7 separate regions of the Homo sapiens genome follow, and regions 2, 3, 4, 5, 6 and 7 are each linked to region 1. Evidence: promoter capture Hi-C in 16 types of primary human blood cells and fetal thymus (Javierre and others, 2016). All regions are on one chromosome and are shown on one strand. Each heading gives the region's core, a stretch centred on a gene start or on the middle of the fragment in contact. The rest is flanking DNA. Distances are from core to core; before and after follow the strand shown. Region 1 holds the start of ELF4 (E74 like ETS transcription factor 4). Region 2 has its middle 39 kb from the start of APLN. Region 3 has its middle 19 kb from the start of APLN. Region 4 has its middle 8.8 kb from the start of APLN. Region 5 has its middle 34 kb from the start of APLN. Region 6 has its middle 5.2 kb from the start of SASH3. Region 7 overlaps SASH3 (SAM and SH3 domain containing 3).

Evidence for each region. Contacts are between HindIII fragments. The CHiCAGO score rates a contact against its expected background, and 5 or more counts as called.
Region 2: a fragment that was not itself captured here is called in contact with the fragment with the promoter of ELF4 in region 1 in 11 of 17 cell types (neutrophils, total CD4 T cells, activated CD4 T cells and 8 more); the score reaches 12.2 in neutrophils.
Region 3: a fragment that was not itself captured here is called in contact with the fragment with the promoter of ELF4 in region 1 in 7 of 17 cell types (neutrophils, naive CD4 T cells, activated CD4 T cells and 4 more); the score reaches 8.9 in neutrophils.
Region 4: a contact is called between a fragment that was not itself captured here and the fragment with the promoter of ELF4 in region 1, in 2 of 17 cell types (total CD4 T cells and naive CD4 T cells). The highest score is 6.9, in total CD4 T cells.
Region 5: a contact is called between a fragment that was not itself captured here and the fragment with the promoter of ELF4 in region 1, in 2 of 17 cell types (activated CD4 T cells and total CD4 T cells). The highest score is 6.7, in activated CD4 T cells.
Region 6: a contact is called between a fragment that was not itself captured here and the fragment with the promoter of ELF4 in region 1, in 8 of 17 cell types (total CD8 T cells, non-activated CD4 T cells, monocytes and 5 more). The highest score is 8.7, in total CD8 T cells.
Region 7: a fragment that was not itself captured here is called in contact with the fragment with the promoter of ELF4 in region 1 in 2 of 17 cell types (activated CD4 T cells and neutrophils); the score reaches 5.6 in activated CD4 T cells.

The regions. Positions count from the first base shown.
Region 1 is chrX:130,108,908-130,112,340 of GRCh38, reverse strand. It overlaps ELF4 (E74 like ETS transcription factor 4), which reads left to right and starts at 1,844. Exons shown (of 9, transcript NM_001421.4): 1 at 1,844-2,016. It also overlaps a transcript of RAB33A not described here. RefSeq lists silencers at 1,113-1,232, 1,303-1,352, 1,363-1,412, 1,663-1,812, 1,893-1,962. The HindIII fragment of the contact is 7,600 bases long and covers 1-3,433 here.
Region 2 is chrX:129,614,137-129,617,569 of GRCh38, reverse strand. No RefSeq gene overlaps it. Among named protein-coding and RNA genes, the nearest start is that of APLN, 39 kb to the left of the region's middle. The HindIII fragment of the contact is 7,528 bases long and covers 1-3,433 here.
Region 3 is chrX:129,634,487-129,637,919 of GRCh38, reverse strand. No RefSeq gene overlaps it. Among named protein-coding and RNA genes, the nearest start is that of APLN, 19 kb to the left of the region's middle. RefSeq lists a silencer at 149-318. The HindIII fragment of the contact is 312 bases long and covers 1,714-2,025 here.
Region 4 is chrX:129,662,090-129,665,522 of GRCh38, reverse strand. No RefSeq gene overlaps it. Among named protein-coding and RNA genes, the nearest start is that of APLN, 8.8 kb to the right of the region's middle. The HindIII fragment of the contact is 3,664 bases long and covers 1-3,351 here.
Region 5 is chrX:129,687,045-129,690,477 of GRCh38, reverse strand. No RefSeq gene overlaps it. Among named protein-coding and RNA genes, the nearest start is that of APLN, 34 kb to the right of the region's middle. The HindIII fragment of the contact is 3,434 bases long and covers 176-3,433 here.
Region 6 is chrX:129,773,026-129,776,458 of GRCh38, reverse strand. No RefSeq gene overlaps it. Among named protein-coding and RNA genes, the nearest start is that of SASH3, 5.2 kb to the left of the region's middle. RefSeq lists enhancers at 969-1,018, 3,012-3,311. The HindIII fragment of the contact is 4,423 bases long and covers 1-3,433 here.
Region 7 is chrX:129,793,223-129,796,655 of GRCh38, reverse strand. SASH3 (SAM and SH3 domain containing 3) reads right to left here. Exons shown (of 8, transcript NM_018990.4): 8 at 1,455-3,014. The coding sequence ends at 2,824. Among named protein-coding and RNA genes, the nearest start is that of SASH3, 15 kb to the right of the region's middle. The HindIII fragment of the contact is 5,726 bases long and covers 1-3,433 here.

The DNA of each region.
Region 1 (3,433 bases), core at 595-3,094:
CTACCCCAAATTTGAGAGGGGACCTCGTGGATGAGAGGCCAGCAGAGAACTGTGTGTCTCCAGGATCTGGAATCCCCTGGGAAAAGCATGCCCGCTTGGAAAAGACAAAGTGCTTGTTTTGGGGACTTGATTCTGAGTATCCAGGAGGTCTCAGGGGCCGGCGCCCCAGTCCAGCCACAGGATCTTTCCTTGGGAACTTGTAATCTGCAGCTGCCTTTGTGGCCATCATCCACCACCACTCCTGTCCCCCAGTCCTGCGCCTGAGATGATCCTTTCCCAAGGCAGGAGAAGCAGGCCGATGCTGGAGGCTGAGTAGGTCCTTCAACCTCAAGCCCTTTAGAAGGCCCCATCCCCTGGGGCTCCTTCAGTCTTGATGCTTTCTGCCAAGGCTTAGGCCTTGCTGCCCCCACCCCCAAAAAGGCCACGTGGAACTATACAGAGTAACAATTCCCAGCGCACTCTCTCCAGAGCCTCCTATCAGCAGACCCACGTAGGCGGCGGTATTGATGTTGAGGCAGGTCAGAGAGGGCAAAGGGGAGATAGAAGGGGAGCGTGCCTGAGTGGCTTTCAAGTGGGCGCGTGGAGCAGAGCAGCCTGGCTTTGGACAGGGGAAGAAAGGTAGGCATGGGCTTTCTTCCAGCACCCGAACTCTGGCTCTCTTTGCACTTGCTGGGCCAGCCCCTCTCCCCCTAGCCCTTCCCCTGACTCATATCTTGCCAGCGTCCCCCACCCCAACTTCCCGCAGGAGTCCTAGACTCGACTTCCCTAAGAAGTCGCCGAAACTCTCCAGTCACCCCAGGTGTTACGCCCAGGATTCTGCGGAGTCGGGCATATGGTTCCAAAATTGTATCCTCTGGGCATCTCGCGGCCTCACCCGCCGCACGGCCCGCCCTCCCGCTGGGGCCTGCACACCCCAGGAGCTCAATAATGTGGAGCGCAGGGCTTGGCCCAAAGGCGTCAAGCAAGTCTCCACTTGCACGGGCCGAGGGGGCTGGACGAAACCTTCCCGAGTCCGCGGGGAAGGGATTTCTCTGCGGGGCGTTGTATGGGGGCTTCGCACCGGGAAGGGCGCGGAACGAGCAGAGAGCTCGGAGTCTCGCTGGCTAGAAGCAGAGTGGGGAGCGCCCGCCCGGGCCGCGGCGCACGACGCGGGCTCTGCGGGCGCCCTGCCTCGTGGTCCCCCGGGCGCGAGCGAGCCGCGAGGGGAATGAGAGGCCGCGCGGGCCCCTGGCACGGCTCCCCATGCCGTGCTGGCGACCGCGGCGGGCGGGCCGGGGCGGACGGGCGCTGTTTCCACCGAGATGCCTCGTCCCTCCCTCGTTCCCTCCCCCACCCCGCCCGCCCGCAGTCCCTCCCGTCGGTCCCTCCCTCCGGCTCTTCCCTCCCTCCCGCCCTGCCTCCTTCGCGCCCGCCCCATCCGCCGCCTGCGGGGACGTGTGTGTCTCTACTGCATTTCCCCTTTCGCTCGCTCGTTTCGGTGCATGTCTGCGCCGGTTCGCGCCCCCTCCCCGGGCGCCCCTGCCGCCCCGTGTCTTGGCCCGGCCCTCCCCGGCGTCCGCCCCGCTCCCCGCGCGCTCCACCCCGCCCCCCGCCCCGTTTTATCAGGGGCGCCGCCGTCTCACCTGGTATTTGCATCTCTCCCTCCAACTTGCCATTGGCGGCGCGAAGTGTGGGAGAGCCCTGCGCCTCGCCCGCCCGGACCAGCCTGCCCCGGCGCCGAGGTGAGTCACGGGCGCGGGGTGGCGGGGGCAGGCGGGCGGGGAAGAAGGGCGGGCGGGGAGGAGGGCGGGGGACGGCGGCCCCGGCGGCCGCGGGGACCGACCGGGCGCCGCGCTCAACTTCCACTTCTCCTTTCGCCGGCGCCGAGTTCCTGGCGCCGCTCGCCCGGCCCGGCTTCCGAGGGGAGAGGACGGGCTGGCGGGGCTGGGGACCCGCGTCTCGGCCCCCGGAGCGGGGACCACGGAGACAGACCCCGGCCCGGCGACCGAGCTGGGCCCGTGAGCCACTCGGCCTCAGGTACGTCGATGGCGCCGGTTCTTCGAGCCTTGGGGGACGTGGAAAAGTTTGCTTGAGGGCGGAATCGAGAGCGCCGGGGCCCCGGCGTGGGGCTGGGGGCCCAGGGAAGGGCGGGAGAGTCGCGGAGTGTCGCGAGCCGCCCTGGAGTCGCCCCGCCGCGCGTGTGATGGAGAACCCGGGCTCCCGATCCCGGGATGGAAGTGGAATGGATTCCCCGAGTCGGGGAGTCGGGGTAGGGGCCCCTGTTTTCCCTCGCCCCCGGCAGCCTGGGTTCCGTGACGGGGCCGATCATGACAGCGGGCCCCCAGAAGCTGGGCGCCCGAGGGCAGAGGAGGTGGGGCGGACCGCGGCGGAGCTGCTAGATGGATCCGACTGCCCCCGGGGCTTCTGGGGCCAGGGCTTTAGGGTCACACGCACACACGCGCACGCAGACCTATGATGTGGAGAACTGGATCGCCAAAATAGAGACCTCTTGGCAGGGGCCGGAGTTTCCGTGTGAGCCAGCCGCCAGCCTTCCCGCTCCCGCGTTCCCGCTCTCCCCGACTCTCCCGCCTCCGGGTTCCCTCCTGGGCCGCCGCCTAGGGGATTCAGCAGCCGCACCGTGCGGGGTCCCCTCACGCCAGCGCCTTGCTTTGGAGGCTTGAGGGACTGCTGAGGCGGTGACCGCTTTATGAATTCCTGGCTCCTCCACCGCACCCTAACCCTGACTCCCTTTTCTCACCACCGTATGCCTGCACATCACCTTCCTGACCAGAGTCACCTCCTGACCCCTTGGCACCTCGGCTCAGCGAGGTCCTCCTGGGCCGCCCCCGCCCCGCACCATACCCCAGCTGAGGGATTTGATGGCCATTTGATTCCTGCCCCTCATCCCTCGGCCTGTGATAGAGGCCTGTCTGGTCCTGCAGCCTCTTCTGGTTAATGTTTGACAGTTCATTGTGGCTAATTATTTTAATTAGCTCTTAAAGTGGGAAAGAACAGTTAACCTTGGACTTCTCGATTTTGGCCTGGTGGGGCCTCAAATGGGAGGAGTGCTGGGGAGGTGGGGAGGTAGGAGCGGAAGTGAGGTCACCACCCCAGGGCCTGAACCACCACTGCTCAGCCCCAACAGCTGGTGGGCACGCCCATTGGGGACTCACCCCCTGCCAGCTGACCCCTGGCCCGAGTGCCAGGTTGGAGGTGGGTGAAGGGAACAGTTCTAGCTCTTCCCTTTGGGGAGACTTTGGCACTGAAAATGCCCGGGGAACACATATGCCCAGCAAGAATGCCAGTCCTTCCTTGCAGTTAGTTACACTGGGTTTTCCTGGTTATAAAGTGCTTTCTCAACCATTAATTCAGATTCAGTGCATCCAGTACAGGAGCAGCGTAGGGGGAGCTCTCTGGAGTTCAGTGAAGATTATCAGGGAGGACTTCCTATCCC
Region 2 (3,433 bases), core at 290-2,789, 490 kb after region 1:
TGAACAACATCAAAGGTCTTCTTCTAGCTTCCCCGCCCCCCGCCATCTTAAAGGGACTGTGCTGCTGAGAGGAAGCCATTTGATGCTGGAAGCAAAGCAATTTCTGGACTTGGCATCCTCACCTGTCTTCAGCCTGAGTGAGAAGCAAAACAGGCTTGTCCCGCAACCCCCAGCAAGCAGTGGCACAGATCCCAAGGCCTGGACCCTCAGGCTTTTCTGCTGGTGGATGTATATCCACAGGAGCCAACAGGGCCCAGTCCTGGGAGAGCAGCCCTAAGACAGCAGTTCTTGCTGAATGAGATCTCAGAATTGGAATGAAAAGCAGGAGAGGCAACATCACCAGCTTCCAGGATGAGCACATTTATCTTGCAGATAAAATAACTGAGACTCAGAAAAAAGGGAGGAGGGTGACAAAGAGACCCCAAAAAAGGGAAAGAGAGTAGAGGAGGGGAATGGTGCGGAAAATAAAGGCTAAAAAGAGAATAGAATGGGAGTTGGAGGAAAAAGGCTACCCCTATGGCCTCTGCAACCTTCTGGCCAATGGTTCCTCTATGCCTTTCTTCTGCCCCCAGCCCTGACCCCCACTTCGCATGCTCCACCTCTCACCTGGGCCTAATGGACATCTTCACTCCTCATGGCACATGGGTCTCTGCTTCCAGCCATCAGACAGCTGAGCACATCCCCCTGGACCCAGGTTGGAGTCTGCCACCCCATCCCAATCCTTCTTCTCCTTTGAGATTCAGCTCAAGTCTCCCTTCCTTGCTATGGCCCTCACTGCCCTTGCCCTCTTCTTAGACAGCATAGAGCTCAGACTGCATAGTTTAGCACTGGGCTGTGTATCGAATGCCACATGGGTTTCCCCACTCCCTCCTGCATGAGATAACACAATCCATCAGGCAAGGCAGAGGCCAAGTCCTGTCCTGTCCTCTCCTCTTCTTCCAGTGGGCCACGCCCTGTGGGCGAGTGAGCTATATTGCTATGATCCAATGAGCTTCCCCTTCGCCATGGGGATCCACTGACCACTAAGGCTAGTAGTGACTGAGGACATAGATTGGGGAGTGTGTGAATGAGTGTGAAAGAGAAAGGGGCCCCAAAATAATAGGAAGAGTCTCTGACAGGGAGGGGAATCCACTTCCCAAGAAAAGGTAGAGAGTGATGATGCCTTGCCAACCGCTGAGACACTGAAGAGGGTAAACAGAAGAACACTGACCCAAGGCTGGGCACCGTGGCTCATGCCTGTAATCCCAGCACTTTGGGAGGCCGAGGCCAGCAGATCACCTGAGGTCAGGAGTTCAAGACCAGCCTGGCCAACATGGCGAAACCCTGTCTCTACTAAAAATACAAAAATTAACCGGGCGTGGTGGCACATGCCTGTAATCCCAGCTACTCGGGAGGCTGAGGCAGGAGAATCGCTTGAACACGGAAGGCTGAGGCAGGAGAATAGCTTGAACCCAGGAGGCAGAGGCTTCAGTGAGCCAAGATGGCACCACTGCACTCCAGCCTGGGTAACAGGGGGAGACTCCGACTCAAAAAAAAAAAAAAAAGAATTCACTCAGAAAAACGCTGACCCAGATCTCCACTGTGTCCAGACCAGCCCACAGAGCAGCTCCTTGCCTTGGTGCTGAGCCCTCCGTCCCAATGCCCTGTGGGGCAGGCCCGGCACTCAGCACTCAGGTGACATTCTGGCAGCGTGGGGCGGGGGGCATTTGTGAGGGTAAGGGTATGGGTGTTGCACCCATCTGGTGACACTCCCTGGCCTGAACCCCACTGGGTCCCACGCCAGGGCCCAGGTGCTTGCACACTCAGCTGCAAGGTCCCTTGGATGAGGTGACTGCCTTGGGGCAGCCACATGTGGGTGAGGAATGGAGCCAAGCTGGGCCTTGTCTCACTCATCTTTGAGTTCCTCTTGCTAACTCTGCCAGCACCTAGCACTGTGCCTGGCACACAATGGGTGTGCAGTAAGCCCTGGCTAATTAATAGTAATAGCAGCTGTCATTTATGAGACACCTACTGTGTGCCAGGCATGGTGCTGAATGCCTTTCAAAGATGATCTCATTTAATCTTGACAACCTTACAAGGAAGGTACTGCATTTGAGTCCCATTTTACAGATGAGAATAACACTCAGAGAGGTTACAGGTAGCTTGTCTAAGGTCGTATGGCAAGCAGATGGTTGGGCTAATATTCAAGGTCAAGTCAATGTGATGCTAGTAGTCAGGCTGGTAACCCCATGCTGTAATGTTGAATAAACGAAAGAACAGGAATCCATGACTGTGACTTCAATAGCCTTATGCTCAGAGCAAAAGACATATGAATCCATGAAATGTGAGGGTCTGAGATACAGCCCCCCTTCCATTGTGTGTGTGCACATACCCCTCCCCCCGCACACACACCTTGGGCTTTGAAAGCCATCTTTTTGGTGCAAACATTGCAACCTCCAGCAGGGAAGTGACGCTGCAATGCAGAGCACAGGCTGTTGCGGATTGGAAGGGGAAGGAAGGCCTGTGCCAGGGCTGCCTTCACACTAAACATAGAAACCCAGAAGGACAGACAACAGCTGAGGTCCTCAGCAGTGCCTGCACCAGGAAACTGATAAGGTTCTGGGGAGAGGGTTTGCCCCTTTGAGAGTTTTGGGAGCCTCTAGTGGCTCTTTGACTGTCCCCTGTCCCCAGGAGGGGCATGGGGGTGGGGTCATTTCAGCACAGCAGCTTTCCAAGCCCAGGAGGGATGAGTGGGTGCCCTTGGGCCCAACTGCTTGTGCCAAGCCTCACCCAATAGCCGACAAACACAAGCAGGCTCAAAAAGAAGAGGAACATCTAGGGCAAGCCAGGCCAATGCCTCAGGTCTCACATATACTAGGGCCTCAAGCTGGACTACTGGAAATGCCCTCACTCCCTTCAGAGCTTTGCTCATGAGTTACTTCCTCAGTGAGTCCTGCCCTGGTCACCCTATTTAAAGTTGCACCCAACCCCCACTCTCCCTATTCCCCTTCTATGCTTTATGTTTCTCTAATAGCATTTATCATCAAATGACAATTTTTACTTATTCATTTTCTTTATTTTCTGTCTCGCTCTATTATATCATATGTACCATGAAAGCAGGGGGCTTTAGGCTGTTTTGATCACTGCTGTAATCCCAGTACCAAGAATTGTAGCTTCCACATAGTTGGAGCTCAAGAAGAATTTGCTGGAATGAATTCACTGATTTCGATGATTTGTGAGCAGTCTACAAAACATGATGATATTTACATTCTACTGCATTTTCAGCCATTCCTTGAGGGAAGCACACGGTGTTTGGGAACATTTCTACATAGAATTCATTAAACTGGGTAGCGCGAGATCCTAACATAGAACAAAGAAAATTCTTGTCAACATGACTTCCCTGCCAAGATGACTTTTTGAAATCTTCACTCTCTTTTTTTTTCTTGTTTTTCCT
Region 3 (3,433 bases), core at 620-3,119, 470 kb after region 1:
TCTTCTGATAACTTGCCCCAGACTCTATCAATTCACCAGCTGAATATGAGGGGCTGAGAATTCCTCACCCACAGGAGTGGCTGGCTACATGCATCTGGGTCAGCTTGATGGCCGGACACTCTGGAAACTTCTTATATGTTTCCCTTTCTTTGCAGTCGGCCTCTCTTTCTTCTCCAAGCCTGCTTATTCTTTGGGGGAAACCCAGTGTGTCATGAGAGGCTGCCCCCTGCTGGCTGAGTCCTGGAACTGCAGGGACTTCTTCAGGCTTGCGTCAAGTCTAGGCACAGGCCATTTTAAGAAAGTTCCCGAGGTCATCTCCTCTTTCCTGTTCTGCAGGAGGTGTGAGAACGAGCAAACGCCAAAGTGTGTGTAGAGGAGTGGCTGACTGGCGTTCATCAAAGACGACTTTTTTAATGGGGGCAGCTCTAAAATTGCTTCTGCTCCAAGATTCTGAGTCTGAACAATTTTGTGGGTGTGCCCCACTGACTTGAGAGGATGCCTCTACAGGTCATGGGCATACGTGGGCTCCATGCATGTGCTTGTGTGAACACCGAATGGGTATGCATATTTGCTCCACGCTGTGTAGCATATTATAGTCCGTATGCATGTTCACTGAGAGAGGGAGAGAAGTTGCCACCCAGAGGCACCAGGGGTGAAGTCTGTGAGGGCAGAGGGCAGCATCTGGGTCTCCAAGGCCAGGCCAGGCCCCATTTGCATCCTTACAGGACTGTCCTAGGCTGTCTGGCCCTCGAGCTGTCCCAAGGAGCTCTTCCCTCAGTGAACCCCATGTTCCCACCAGTTTTCCCCCTACCAGATACACCAACCCTGCCCACCCCCCCACCACCAGCTGCTGTGGGAAATCTCATACCTTCTGGTGGCCATAGGCAGATCTGATTCCTGCGTGTGCTCATGGGACCTCTCAGGGAGCAAACCCTCCCTTCACCCGGCCCCTGCCAAGGCCCACATCCAGGGCTGCTGTTTTCCTCTATCTGGGCTGGTGCATCCCTATAGCGTGTTTCTGGCCAGCAAACATTCTAATCAGTTGGTGTCCAGACCTTGCTGGCTATTAAAGATTTTTCACTATTGCCCCTGTCCAATTCCCATACTCCCAGGTAACGTGTGCATTTTAACCTGGAGCTTCATGAGGCCATGAGTTAGGGCGTTACTCTTGTTCTCAGGCAAAGTTTTTTTTTTTTTTAAACAATCCTTTCTCATTGCTCCTCCAAATGGCATGAAAACACTAGCCCACCTTGCTAGTCTCGGCAAGCAAAATCCCTTGGTGAGGCCATGAGCCATCCGTTAAATACTTGAGCTATTAAGTTGAAAGCAGAAGTGTCAGATCACAGTTGAATGACCCCCTTGGACTTTGCCCAAAGGGAAAGCTTTCTGAGTGAGCTCAGAGGGATGGGAGCTCTGGAGGCTCCAAGTTCAGCTCCAAGTGAGTGCTCACACGCAGGCCGAGCCTTGTCCTTTGCCCATGGGTGGAGCACACCAGCCACTCCCGCCGCATTTCTAGGAAATACCCCCTTCTGCTCCCTGGCTTTGGCCTCAACTCCTCCTTGCAGAAGTGCAGACAGTGGAAAGCTGATTTTCATAGGTTATTGTCATGCTGGGCTCCTCCTCCGCCCAGCCCATGACTTGCTCCTTCCCAACTGCTGTCCTCCCCTTATGGCGGCCCTGGGGACTGTGAGGTGGTGTGACAGAGAGAAAGCTTCCATCCCAGTTGTGCCACTTGGTAGGTGAGCCACTCTCCCGCTCTTAGCTTTACTTCCCATTATCTATCACAGGGGATGGTAACTGTGCCCTTTGCTGTTGTCTTTAGGCCCAATTGAGACATGGATCCAAAAGTACTTGGAAAGGAAAACTATTGCTGGAAGCACGCAAGTGGTGATGAGCTCAAAGCTCAGAGGTGCTACCCTCAGCCAGCTCTCTGGTCAGCACAGAATCTTACCCTTGCCAGAGTCCCTTTCTGATTTTCCGTGTGCAGGAAGATTAGTGACCCATAGTCATATAGAATCCCAAGCTTGTCAGGGACTTTAGTTGGGCCATCAAGGGATAATACAAGCTACCATTTCTTGAGCAATTATATGTTAGGTACTGTTCTAAGTGCTTTATATATTATACGCATTTCATCCCCACAACAAGCCCATGAGGAAGAAACTCTTATCATTCCCATTTACAAATGAGGAAATCAAGGCTCAGTATGATTAAGTGAATTGCCCAAAGTCACACAGCTGGTAAACTGAGCCAAGATTTGAAGACTGGCTATCTGGCTCCAGAATCTGAGCTCTGAATCATTGTGCTCTGCGGGCTCTACATGGCCCTCACTGAGCAGGATTTTTTGCCTCTGCTTGTACATCTCCAGTGATGGGGAGCTCATTGCTTCCCAACGTAGCCTGTTCTAACTTCACTTAGCTGTGGCTGCTGGAAACTTCTAGCATGTCTGGCCAAGCCTTTGGTGATCCAGACCACACAAAGATCTGTTTCCTGAAGGCTTAAGCAGGGGATAGGTGAAAAACAGGAGGCTACAGAAAGCAAGTATTCTCCCTGTACCCCTCGACACACAGAGACCCCCCGATTCCATTCCTTTGGGCATGTCAACTCCTTTTCCTCCAGTGGAGGTTGACACAGGAAGTAAGATGGTCCCCTCCACCTCAATATACTTTTCAATTGAAGAGAGTTGGTGAGCCCACCTGTTTGCTCCAGTTAGAGCCTCGGACATACGCAGTGCCCACTGTATTAATGAGCGTGCACTAAATACTGAATGAACGAATGAATGAATGAATGGGCATGTGAATGAAGAACAGGCTCACAGCCTCCTTTCCTGCCAGCCTCAGTCTCCTGGAAGAGTTAGTTTTGCACTGTGCTTTGAGATCCTGACAAGCAGCATTTCCATGGTAACGAGGCATAGACCTGCCAGTCTGCAGGGCCAAATTCTTTCCTGTCACATGGACTGTTAGCTCGCTCCGGAAAAGATCCTAAACTACTGTCAGTGTATGCAGAGCAGGTCACTGTCAGCTGGGAGACCCTCAGAGTAGGCACTGCTGGGCAGATCTCCCAGTGCCTATCTCCTCTGGGAACTTCCCGGACTGATCGACCTTACTGGAGTTTCCATGGTAACAACACTAGGCTAATGGGTTGCCAGGGTGATGGTGTGCTACTGCTAAGATTGCATGGACTGGACCACACAGGGCCACTGAGTTGAAAAGATGCTAATAACACCTTTTGAGTTTCCATGACAACAACACTCGAGCACCGGGTAGGCTTTGTCCCAAATGCAGATTAGGCCCCCGCCCTCCACACTCTGGGAGAACGCCCTGGGAGGTTGGGCCACTGGGAACTGTCGTACCCTCCTAAAGGAAAGAGGTGGCCAGGGCCTGTTCCTCCTCCTCAGCCTCTTCCCTGCCCAGGGCCCCTTGCCATACTGTTCCTC
Region 4 (3,433 bases), core at 270-2,769, 450 kb after region 1:
GAAGAACTTGAGGGAGCAAAGCACAGATGTTCAGACCTATTCATTCATTCATTCATATATGCATTGATTGGGAAAATGATTGAACACCTACTATGAGTTAGACACTGGCTAGATGCTGAGGACACAGTCATGAAACCAGACAGCCATGGCCCCTGCCCTTATGGAGTTCAGTCTAGTTGGACAGTGAGGGGTGGATGGGGTGAGCCAGACATTAACTGAACACAAACTGAATTGTGAACTATGAGAAGCGATTACAGGGGAATTTCAGCCAGTCTGAGGGCCAAGGAAAACATCTCTTGAGGAGGAGTGATTTGACATTAGAGATGAGCTGATTGATGATAGGCATTAGCCAGGAGAAGACAGGGTAGAGCAGAGAATCATTCAGTAGGAGGAAAAAGTATTGGGAAGGCACTGTGACAGGAGGGACATGGCATTGCAGATAGAAAGAGGATAAGAGGCAAGAGAAGAGGCTGGCGAAGTGGGTAGGGGCTAGATTATGCAGGGCCTTGCATGCCATGGTTAAGAGTTTGGTCTTGTCCTAAGAGCCATGAGCCACAGAAGGTTTTCAAGCCAACTGGCATAACCATTCTGGTTGCTATGGAGAATGATGTGTGAGGAATGACAGGGCTGGAACAAGAATAGGGCAGCAGAAACATAGAGACGTGTAGATTTGACAGATATTTGGAGGTTAAATTGGCAGAAAGTTCATGCTGTGTTGATTCCAGCATGCCAGAAATGTAAATGGAGGTAGTGGGGTGTAATGGGTTGAACAGTAGCCCCCGAAAAGATATGTCTATGTCCTAACCCCTGGAACCTGTAAATTTGACACCTCATTTAAAAATGGTCTTTGCAGGTGTAAGAAGTTTAAGGATCTCAAGAGAGACATACTGGATTATCCAAGTGGGCCCTAAATCCATTGCTGACAATCTTTATAAGAGTGAGGCAGCCACGCCTATAATCCAAGCACTTTGGGAGGTCAAAGTGGGAGGATCACTTGAGGCCAGGAGTTTGAGAACAGCCTGGGTAACACGGCAAGACCCGTCTTTACAAAAAAAATAAAAAATAAAAAATCAGCTGGTTGTGGTGGTGCTTGTAGCTACAGCTACTGAAGAGGCTGAGCCAGGGGGATTGCTTGAGGCCAGGAGTTCTAGGTTATGGTGAGCTATGATCACACCACTGCACTCCAGCCTGGGCAACAGAGTGAGACCCTAGAGAGGCAGAAGGATATCACATAGACAAAAGGGTCAGGTCATGTGAAGATGAAGATGGAGGCAGAGATTGGAGGGATGCAGCCCTAAGTCAAAGAATGCCTGGAGCCACCAGGGGATGAAAGAGGCAAGGAAGAATCCTCCCTTACACTTTCATTTTATCTTTATTTATTTTTAATTGACAAATGATAATTGTGCATGTTTATAGGGTACAATGTGAGGTTTTGATCTATGCATACATTGTAGAAAGATTCAATCAAACTAATTTACACATCTATCACTTCACTAATTTATCATAAACTTCTCACCCTAGAGCTTTCTTGATTTCAGATTTCTGGCTTCCAGAAGTGAGAAGAAATAAACTGTTGTTTTAAGCCACGAAGTTTGTGGTAATCTGTCATAGCAGCCCTGAGAAATTAACACATGGAGTTTTGCTGTAAGATGGCTAGTTTTCTTTCTTTTTTCTCCAGAAGTGTTACCTTTTAAATTTTAGTACAATATTTGACTCTCTCTTTATGTGTATGGGAAATGTATGAAAGTCAAAAAGTAAGAACCTCAAAAGATCTCAGTCTGTGGCCATGGTTAGGATTCAGGTAGTGACTGGTGTCAATCCAAACTTGAGTTTGGGATAGAACAAAGCTGACCTCATTATCTCTCTGACTTTGACCTTATTATCCCAGAACTCTAAGCCCATAACGGAACTGGTCATAGACTCAATACCGTGTCCTCAACAGTCTTTGCCCTGGCTCTGCAAACAAAGGTGCCAGATTTGAGACATATAATATCTTACATGATATAAGCCCAGATAATATTAACCAGCAAAGCAAGAGGAAGAAAGGTTCAATGGACTTTGGAGATAAACCTGCTCCTTTGGGAGTGGCTATCCTAACTCACAGGGCCTTGCTGCGTAAGGAAGGAATTCACATGCCTCCCCTGGGAGACCAGGGTATTTATAGACCGTAGGGGAGAGGAAGGATGGAGGCTCCTGGGAGACGTCATAGAGGATATGCAGAGGAAATGAAACTGCTCTGAAAGACAAACAGGAGGAATGGGGACCTGTGTGGCTATGGGAGAGGATCAGAAGGAATGAAGCAGGATGTAGGGAAAAGGGGGTAATTCTGTGGAGCTGGGCTGGGCTGGGGGCAGGAACAGAGGAACAGTTCTTCACCTCAGAGAATCTCTCTTAGGACTTATTCAGCTAATAAACTGTGAACCCTTCAAAGACATTTGAAATATAGCTGATTATCTGAATTCCACTGACAACATTTTTCAGGAACTTGGGTGTTGTGTCAAGGAAGGCGTATCTGTGGGAACCCCTGGTGTTCCTTGAATATATCAGACGATCTGAGAAGGTATGTAGTTTGCAAAGAAGTTGGAAGAAACAGAGAAATGGAATAAGCATTTCCAGGGCAGTTGGAGCCCATGTGGCAGTGGCTGAAAGGTGTCCCATGGAAGGAATTAGCATGTAGTGACTTGAATATAGTATTAAACACTTGAGATGTGAATAGAGATAATGTGGTTATGCTGCAAAATGGCTACTTCTCTAATTTTTGCAAACCTGATACCGTGTGATGGTTAGTATTTGACTCTGTGTGCTTGGGAAGAGGGCAAGTGTGAAAGACAAGATCTCGGTCTGTGGCCAGGCTTAGGACCTAGCTGGTGATCAGAATTAAGAGGTATTGGACATCAAGACAAGAATCACACAGTTAGCTGAAGAAGAAACCCCAGCAAAGTCCAACAAAGAGATTATTCCCTCAAAATGATTATTAGGATCTTTTGATTCACAGAATAAGTTCCAGGCTAAGTTTCACATAATGAACATCATGTCTCTGATTTAAATGGTCTCACACCCAGAATGGGAAAGTGAACCCATGAATATGGCTTAAGCATCTACTACTCTATGGCAAGCATTGTGCTGGCTGCTCTGGTGGTTATAGATGAGTTAGAAAGCTCAACTCTAGCCGTTAGTATCAGAAAGACAAATACTCAGTAATGAGAGAGTGAAAAATTCATGTTCTCTTGTGGTGGTTAACTGAGCAAAGATAATTTGTCATGAAGCTAGTTAGTGAGGCATCAACTAGCAGCTGGCCCATGCTTTTTTCCCCCAAGTTCCTGTTAAGTAGCTTCAGAGGCAGGGTAAGCTTTGAAGTTCTTCTTAAATACTTTTTCCCGATGTTGCTGCTACTGAACTTCTTTTGCTCATTAATTTAGCTTATGTCTTAAGG
Region 5 (3,433 bases), core at 643-3,142, 420 kb after region 1:
TCAGCCAGCCTTTAAGTCCCAAGAGGTGAAGGTGCCTACGGGAGCCCCCTTTATTTTGAGGAAAGCATGTATTGTTTTGATGACAGCTATTCTGACTTAATGCTTCCCAGCCCTGGAGAGATCACATGCCACCCTTGCACAATAGAAATGATGGGGGTCAAGAAATAATCAAGCTTCTCTCCAGAAGCAGGGGTGGTGATATGTTCACTTTCTTCAATGGAAACTAAGCCCCAGAGAAGGGAAGGAATCCCCCTGAGGCCACACAGCCAATTAGTAGCCTAATAAAGAACATTCTAATGGGGGCGGGGGGTGTGTGTTGGAGCAGAGTAGGGTGGAATTGTTAGCTCTGTGCCTAACCATTTGCTCAGCCTCACCAAATCCACCCAGGGTAAGCCCTTCAGCAACTGGGGAATGGCCACATTGCCAAACCCCCCTGCCTGAATCCTACTGTATGTGTATAGGGAAAGGCTGTTGGCCCATCCCTGTTCCATAATCATGCGCCTACGGACTCACCCACTACCTTGGAGCCTACATGCTAGAGAGGAAGTGGCGGCTGAGAGAAGAAACAAATACAGTACAAGAATTATTAGCATGTTCTACTCTTGAGAAGTTCTTCCTGTCTCTCTTCTTTTTTCTTTTTTTAGACGGAGTCCTGCTCTGTCTCATAGACTGGAGTGCAATGGTGCAATCTCGGCTCACTGCAATCTCTGCTTCCCGGGTTCCAGTGATTCTCCTGCCTCAGCCTCCCAAGTAGCTGGGATTACAGGCATCTGCCACCGCGCCCAGCTAATTTTTGTATTTTTTTTGTAGGGAAGGGTTTCGCCATGTTGGCTAGGCTGGTCTTGAACTCCTGACCTCAGGTAATCCACCCACCTTGGCCTCCCAAAGTGCTGGGATTACAGGCGTGAGTCACCATGCCCAGCCCTGTCTCTCTTCTTGTCTGCTCACCACACAGGTAGGAAGGACAAGCTCTAGGTTTTATACTGCAGAGGTAGGGAAACTGAGGTCAACTGGAGATTGGGAGGTTTGTCTCAGATCATGAATGCATCAAATTAGCCAGAAAGCTGGTTCGGGGACCCTGGCTTCCTGATTCCCAGCCAAAGGCTCTTGCCAACACATTTTACTGCCACCTCTCATCTGACTGCCAAGGCCTTCTGCACAGAGCCTCATCTGCCCATGTGCCTACCTTGGAAGAGACATTGCACAATGAACATAGCTCTGTCCTAGCATTTATGGCCAGAAGCTATGTCACCCTGAGGTTCTGAGACCCTGGAAGAATGAGGAGGATGTTTCAGAATCTAGATGTTCCACCTGGCCAGGTATTAGGGCCCAGATGTGGAAACCTACCCACTGGTCAGATTGGCCCTGACCAAATGTGGAGCAACTCTTTGGCCTATCAAACATGTAAGTGTCTGCTTGCTATGAATAAGGGAAAACTGCTGCTTGTTGTGCTTATGGAAGCCGTTAGGGAAACTTTAAGAGGTGGGACTCCAATTGGGGCCTGAAGGCACTGGAGAGGAGAGAAGGGCACCCAGAGTGAGGGACCAGCTGACAGCTGCAAGCAAGAAAGCAAAAGGCTTGTCTGAGGTTCAGCTGAGGGAAGAGCAGGAAGTAGGATTGGTGTAGTAGGGAGTATTTTCCCACAATTGCTGTGACAGTATCGTCTGTTCCGCATGAGCGTATTACAGTATGACTTTGACACTCCCCCATTGAGATGTAGGGTCTATGTTCCTTCTCCCTGAAGCTGGGCAGCTTTGTGACTATGGCAGAAGTGAAGCTAGATGACTTCCAAGGCGAGGTCGTAGAAGAGGATACAGCTTCCACTTTGCTTGCTGGAATAATCACACTTGAAGCCATGAGCCACCCTGTGATTGGTTTGACTGCTACCATGCTGTGAGGAAGCCCAAACCGACTCACATGGAGAGATCATGTGAAGATCTCCGAGACCACATGAAGTGAGAGGTGTCTGGCCTGTCCCCAGCTGCTCCAGCCCCATTCTCCTCACCCCATACTGTTTTAGCTCCAGTCACTCCCTGATTACAACCTGATGAGGGACCTGGAGCCAGGACTACCACCTGAGCCCTTCCTGAGTTCCTTACCCACAGAAACCATGAGAGGTAATAACATGATTGCTGATGTCTTAAGCCACCAAGGTTCGGGGTGATTTGTACACTGCACCATTCGTAGCTTCTGTAAATCAATAAACACAGTTAACATCACAGTAGCCATTATTTGAGTCCAAAAGTCTCACCACCTCTCCAAAACCAGTGGGGGCGTTCAAAGGTTCCTTAAGCCCCCTGTCTTCTCTAGGCAATCATTTATAGACTAGACATTCAACATCACAGAATATGCTCATAAAACTCCAATAAGGCATGCCTGTAATCCCAGCACTTTGGGAGGCTGAGGCGGGCAGATCACGAGGTCAGGAGATCGAGACCACAGTGAAACCCCGTCTCTACTAAAAATACAAAAAACTAGCCGGGCGCAGTGGTGGGCACCTGTAGTCCCAGCTACTCGAGAGGCTGAGGCAGAAGAATGGCGTGAACCCGGGAGGCGGAGCTTGCAGTGAGCTGAGATGGCACCACTGCACTCCAGCCCGGGTGACAGAGCGAGACTCCGTCTCAAACAAAACAAAACAAAAAACAAAAAACAAAAACAAAAACCAAACAAAAAAAACTCCAATAAGGGCTGGGCACGGTGGCTCACACCTGTAATCCCACCACTTTGGCAGGCCAAGGCGGGAGGACCACCTGAGGCCAACATGGTGAAATGGAGGAGAATCTCTTGAACCTGGGAGGTGGAGGTTGCAGTGAGCCGAGATCGTGCTACTGCACTCCAGCCGGGGCAACAAAGCAAGACTCTGTCTCAAAAAAAAAAAATGCATGGATGAAGACAGAGCTGGGAAATCCTCTTCCTCTTTTTCAGCTGAATGGAAGGTGAACACAGAGGAGATGAATAGCCCCCAAGCAAATACCTGACAGGAGGGGAAGTGGGAGTTTGGGTAAGTCAAGCAGACAGTCTACTGATCACACTGAGAGCTAAAAGCTGCAAGGATACCAGAGGCCCCTCCTGGTTAGAGAAAGGGTTCTTCTGGCACTTCCCACTTCAGATCCATCCATCTTCTTCTGCCCAAAGAACCGTCTACTTACGCAATCTCTCCATTGTGTCTTTCCAGTGGAATATTTAATGCTTTCTCACCTCCGGAACAAACCCACAAGGCCTACCATTTTGATCAAATGTAGGTGGGATTAGGCTCTAGCCTTGTGTCCATTGCTCAGATGTCAGAGGCCTCAGAGCATTAATCACCACAGGTAGCCAAGCCTGGGGGGAAGAGGCAGGTCAAATGCTCTAGTGATTGGGCCCTTTATGGGTCTGCCCATGACACCTGACCTGGGTCCTGTTCTAGAACCATTAGTTGTGGAGAATTTTGGTT
Region 6 (3,433 bases), core at 641-3,140, 340 kb after region 1:
AAGTATTTTTTTAAATTTAATTTAATTTAATTTTTTTTTGAGTCTTACTCTGTTGCCTAGGCTGGAGTGCAGTGACGCGATCTCGGCTCACTGCAACCTTCACCTCCTGGGTTCAAGCTATTCTCCTGCCTCAGCCTCCTGGGTAGCTGGGACTACAGGCGCATGCCACCATGCCTGGCTTATTTTTTGTGTTTTTAGTAGAGACGGGGTTTCACCATGTTAGCCAGGATGGTCTTGATCTCCTGACCTCGTGATCTGCCCACCTTGGCCTCCCAAAGTGCTGGGATTACAGGTGTGAGCCACTGCACTCAGCCAAGAAATTCTTATTTAGTAGATGATCATGAGTGGGATATTTGGGGCAGGTAAGATCCAGACCATGTACAAAAGCATCTCTCACTCTCTGAATGGATATATTTCTAATTTGAGATAGTAAGAGTTTGGATAGTGAGAGATACTTATATCTGGAAAAACCTCCCAAAAGATTCTTTAAGTTTTAATTAATTAATTAATTAATTAATTAATTAATTTGAGACAGGGTCTCCCTCTGTTGCCCAGGCTGGAATGCAGTGGTGTGGTCACAGCTCGCTGCAGCTTCAAACTCCTGGGGCTCATGATCCTCCCACCTCAGCCTCCCGGGTAGTTGGGACTACAGGCACGTGCCACCATTCCTGGCTAATTTTTTTTTTTTTTTTTTGCCTATGTTGTCCAGGCTGATCTTGAACTCCTGGCCTCAAGTGATCCTCCTGCCTCTACCTCCCAAAGTGCTGCAATTACAGGTGTAAGCCACTGCACCCGGCCCCCAAAGATTCTTATTTCCATTCCCCCCAGTCCCCACATCTAGCTGAAAATTATTATACTTCATGGCAGGCAGTGGGCTTTACAACAACCTGGTAAGTCAGGCACTATTGTTATCCCCATTTTCCAGGGAGGAAGCTGAGGCCCAGAGGAGTTAAGTGAATTGCCCACACAGCTAGTAAGCAGTGGAGCCCAGCGTTAAATGCAGGTCTGGTCTTGGCCAGGGCCCACACAACTAACCACTCAGCTGAAGTGCCTCTGATGCGGAGTTCCTGAACGGGGAGGTGAGAGAATTATGGAGCCCTCGGCTTGCAGCCTTCTCTTGGCACCTGATGCTGGTTTGGGTGCCACACTAGGTGCCACAGAGCCACCTTGAAGCAGGCCCAGAGGGGAGTGAACAGGATGGGGAGGACATCTGGAAGTCGCATCACATCTGCAAAGCTGCAATAGCTAGGGTCGATTAAGCGGGGGTGAAGTATAGGGAAGTCGTCAACGTGTGAAGTACTAAACTCCTGTCACATTTAGCCTAGGTGATTGGGGTGGGGAAGCAAGTGGTATGAATGATGGGGAACAGATAAATGGAAGGTTTTAGTATATTCCAAGGAACAAATTTTGGCTATTCAGATGGCACTAGTTCAGCTCTGGTAAGTAATGATCTCCCCATCTCTTGAAATATTCAAGTAGGCCGGGCACGGTGGCTGACACCTGTAATCTCAGCACTTTGGGAAGCCCAGGTGAGTGGATCACCAGAGGTCAGGAGTTTGAGACCCGCCTGACTAACATGGTGAAACCCGTCTCTACTAAAAATACAAAAATTAGGCGGGCATGGTGGCACATGCCTGTAATCCCAGCTACTTGGGAGGCTGAGGCAGGAGAATCGCTTGAACCTGAGAGGTGGAGGTTGCTGTGAGCCAAGATCACGCCACTGCACTCCAGGCTGGGCAACAAGAGTGAAACTCTGTCTCAAACAAAACAAAACAAAACAAAACAAAACAACCAAAAAAAAAAAAAGAAAGAAAAAAAGAAAAGAAAAAGAAATATCCAAGCAGAGGCCACATAGTTTCTTGAAAATACCTGGACATTTCCAAGGTGAAGCCCACTTTAGTAGCCCGGCCCATTAGCAAATTTAATGGTGGTCATTTTAGGCAGGGAGGGCAGAAAGAGCAAAATTGCAGGAGGGAGAAGGCGGGCAGAGGAAAGCAAGGAGACAAGGGCAGGTGACTCTTGCGCCCATTCCTCATGCCCACATACAACACACACAGAGTGGGCATCTGGTGGCAGGGGCTGATGGGAGGGGAGGGAAAGACAGTGATCTTTGGAACTCTGAACTCGTGATAAGGTCTTGGTTTTAAAACAAAACAAAACAAAAAACACCTGCTGGTAGCTCTGTCAATTACCATCAGAAGAGGAGGCTGGACTTTGGTGCTCAGATTAAAACACACTCATGACTCACTGGTGGGGGGGTGCACTTTCTATGGGGGACAAGTAGGGGCTGGGCTACTCTGCATAAATCTCTGTCCCAAGGTTACAAGGACAAACCTCTCTGATCAGTGGGCCCCTCCCCCATGGGGACAATTGTCCAGGGCTCCAGGGAAGAGGAGGAACAGAACACCTCTCAGAAATGGAGTCAGGTTGTCCTGATTGGATTCAGATTGTTGTATGGTCACCTACTGGCTGCATAACCTTGGGCAAGTGACCTCACCTGCAATGAGCCTTAGTGAAGATGGTAACAGTGATAATGTGGGCCTTTCTTGTGGGTGTGTGTGACTAGGGTTACTACTCAGGTGACATGCATAGAGGGAGTGCTCTCAGCCCAGTGCCCCAGCTAGTGGAAAGTGCTGGGTACCTGGTGAGTGACTCCACATCAGTTCACTTCAGACTCCACCTGGAGTTTCTCCCCTTGCTAAATCCAGGAAGGCCTTGGTGACCGTTAGGAGCTGCCGCTTTCTCCCTTAGTGTCCCCTTGGAATCTTCTTCTTCTTCTTTTTTTTTTTTTTGAGACAGAGTCTCACTCTGTGGCCCAGGCTGGAGTGCAGTGGCAAGATCTCGGCTCACTGCAGCCTTCGCCTCCCAGATTCTCCTGTCTCAGCCTCCCGAGTAGCTGGGATTACAGGCGCCTGCCACCACACCCAGCTAATTTTTTGTATTTTTAGTAGAGACAGGGTTTCACCATGTTGCCGACCATGTTGCCAAACCAGGCTGGTCTCGAACCCCTGACCTCAGGTGATCCACCCACCTTGGCCTCCTAAAGAGCTGGGATTATAGGCGTGAGCCACCATGCCCGGCCTGGCACCTGCTTCTATGTCTCTTGAGGTCCGCATCTGAATCTCTGCTACGTGACCCTGTGGCCCATATCCTATGTCTCCACCTTGTCAAGAGTGCATCCCTCACCCCAAGTTGTTCTAGAACACAAGAGGTGTGACAAACAAGAGGGCCTGAAGCTGCCTGGGACCCGCTGGGAGAGAAACCAGCTTTTCAGCTTCGTGGACTTGCCACGGACCACTGGGGCTTTCTCAACCACCCATCCTACCCGACTTAAGCTGCTTGCTCAGTTCCTGTTTCACAAAGAAACAAGGAAGTGAAGAGATGGGCCGGCCTCTGGGCAAAGGCTAGCTGGCTTGGGGTTTGGGGAGCACCT
Region 7 (3,433 bases), core at 353-2,852, 320 kb after region 1:
AAACTAAACAAAAATTAGCTGGGTGTGGTGGCGCATGCCTCTAGTCCCAGCTAACTCAGGAAACTGAGGTGGGAGGATCACCTGAACCTGGGAATTCGAGGCTGCAGTGAGCTATGATTGTGCCACATCACTCCAGCCTGGGCAACAGAGCGAAACCCTGTCTCTAGAAAAATAAATAGAATCAAAGAATAAAAAAACACAAAGATTTTCCTCATGTTATTAAATATTTTTCTACAACATCATGTGTCATGGCTGCGTGGTATATGAACAAACCATAAAGCATTTAATTCCCCATTTGCATTGTTTTCAATTTTTTACTATTACAGACAGAGCTGTTGTAGATATCTTTGTCCATAGGTATTTGTGCACTTATGTGGCTGTTTCTGCACTTATGTGGCTGATTAAATTCTAGAAGGGAAATGGCTGGGTCAGAGAGTCAGCTTGCCCTCCAAAGTGCCCAGGACTTTTGAATGCTTGTTGGATGAGGCCTTTGGAGAAGCATTGTAGCATAGGAGTTAAGAACATGGGTTCTGCAGTCAGGAAGACTCCTGCTCTGTTACTTTCTAGTCAACTTCTTCAACCTCCCCAACCCTCAGTTTCCTCCTCTGTAAACTGGGATGATGAGGGCACCCACCTCAGGGGGACACTGTGAGGATTACAGGAGATGCTATATGTAAAGTGCTCAGTGCCTGGCACAAGTGGAGGTGCTCCTTAAATGACTGCAATTATTCAGTACCCTTGGGGCTTTGAGGCTGTTAGGGCTCTTATATCTTTGGTGAGGATCATGCTTGCAGTTTCCTGGCACCCCCAGTCACTAAGGGTGGTGGGATGAATGCAACTGAGAACAAGGCCTGGAAGTCAAGTGGCCTCGTCCTCACTCTGGTGGCAGCTCTCTCTCCAGTAACCCCCTTCCCAATGCCCAATGCAGTTAATTCTGGCAGAAACAGAAAGGAAGCTAGAGGTCTTCATCTCCATCCTACCTCCCAGGAGATGGCACTGCTTTAGTGGGTACAGGGTGGGGGCCAGGAAAAGGTGACTTCAGAGGAAAGGCCATGCTGACCCCAAATCTCCCCCTCTTAGATCCTGGACAGCTCCTCAGTGCAGGCCTTTCTTCACACGGGTGAAGGTCTTTAAGGGCCCTGTTAAAATGAACAGTTATTGGATGAGGGAAATAGCCATTCCCCCCTACACCTCTTGGACCCCAGCAAAGCCCGTGGTCATGGGAGCTTGAGCCTTGTTCTGAGGAGGGCTGGTTAGAGGGGAGGGCAGAGCCAGCTAGGGCTTCAGACTGGAGCTTTAGGTCAGCAGAGTCAAGGGCACTGAACATTTAAGGGAAGGGAAAGATGGACCTGAAAGGACAGTGAGGGACACTTTGCTGAGGCCAGCTTTGAAGGAGACCGGTCTGCCCCTCCCCACAACACTCTCTCCATAGAAAAGATAACTGGAGACGGTAATTTAGTTCTACCCATGTTTATTGCTACCAGCTGGTCTCCCTCCACCCTCTCATATTTACACCCAACCCCTTCCCCAAAGCTAGCTTTTACCAAAGTTCCTGGTAGGAGGTCAAGAAGTGTGTCCACTTAGCCGGCAGTCCTAGATGTAGTGGACGCTGTTTGTCCCCAGGCCAGTTGGGCACCAGGAAGGGCTACTCTGGGGATTCAGGGCATAGACTTCGTACTGGGGTCAAGGGAGGCCCCCACTCACAGATACTCTCCTTTCCTTCTGGGGCTCAATGTACACCAAAACCTTCAGAAAGCAAAGTTGGAGTGGTGGACCCCCAATGTCAAGTTTAGTGCTCTCTTTGCTTGTGAGGACCCACACAAGTGGCCAACTCTGGACTCAGATCCACAGCTGGCTTCCGAGAGGCAATTCTGTCCTTGGAAGCCAGGTTTGACCATCTGTAATCAGCCTTGTGAGAAGTCTCGTTTGAGGGGGCCAGGGATGGAACGGGAGGGCGCATATCGTATGAGGTATGGGCATTGTGTTAAGCTGGGGGAAGTTGCAGCTTGTCCTGAATTACATGGAGAGGAATAAAGTGGGTGAGTAGGAGGAGCCATTTCATCTGAAAGCCTGAGGCCCCTCTGGTCCCCTCGATAAACCCCACTGGTGTCCCAGGCCACAGGTAACAGGAGAATAGACATTTAATGTCACAGAATGTCAGAGCAGGCAAGGCCTTCAGTGATCACCCTTTCTAACCCCAACCCGTCCTAAGCCTAGAAAGAGGAAGCCACTTGGTTCAAGTCTCATAAGATTTAGTGGCCAAACCTCTAAGAAAGCTAGGGAGAAGGAAAGTGGGAATGGTACCTGTGGATTTCTTCAGGCCTTATTTAGGGGAACTGGATTTACCCATGGTCAGTTTGGGTTCTTTTAAATGGCCAGCTTCCCTAGGGTTTTTAGACTGACCTGAAACATTGACTTGGCCCCCTTTTCAGGAGCAGTGCGACAGGGGTAGGTGGTGTGGGGGTGAGGAGGATTTGGAGGCCTTGTTGGTGAGGGACATGGGCAGGGTTTCCCAGTGCCCCACTTGCTGTGGCCGTGGCCATGGCAGGGGAGCAGTTGGTGCCAGGAGGGGCTGCGCTGTCAGTCGCTGGTGGAGGGCGGGGCTCAGGCAGGTGGGATGTGCCCTTGGGCGACTCCCCAACCACTCCAGCTGAGCCTGGAACCTGTAGGGCCCTGGCCTGGCCTCTGTGGCCCTAAGTGTCCCTGGGGAAGCAGGGCCAGGCTCAGTGCCAGTCCTCAGGACCTGGGCCACCACGGGAGGCTGGGCCCACTCCTACAGCCTTTGCAGCTGGGTCCCAGCCTTGGCCTATTGCCACCGCCACCTCAAGGTGCCCCGGCCAGGGAGAGGCCTTGCAGCTGCTCCTCAGTGCCTGCCAGCTCTGCGTCATCGCGCCCGCTCTCCGAGCCCTCAAAGCAGCCTGAGTCGCGCGGGATGTCCACCTTGGGTTCCGACACTGTGTGTGCCACTGGCTCCTGGCTGCTCTCGGCGCCCTCTTCAGCCTCCTCACTGCCAGCTGCCAGGGACGAGAGAGGGAGACAGAATATGGGGGTGGAGGTAGGGACCTTGGGAAATACACCATAGGCAGTCTCTCCTTCTGGGCACCTGCCACCGCCCTGCCCCTCTCCTCACTGCTTCCAGCTTAGAAGCTGGTAGGAGTTGTTTCCAGGCCAGCTCTGCAGTCCAGGAGCTCACACTTCTTTAGCACTAAGCTGGAGCCAGGCAGTGGGCTTGAATCCTGGCTCTGTTATTACTCAGCTTTGAGGCCTCAAGTAAGGCTTTGCCTTCTTTGGCCTTAAGGGTCCCCTTTGATCCAAAGGAGGTTGGGCCCAATCATCCCTACAACTCCTTTCTCCCGTACACTTTCCCTGAAATTCTAATTCAAGTGGAAAGTACCTTTCCACTGCAGAGCAGTCCTAGGGCAGAGCGTGGACA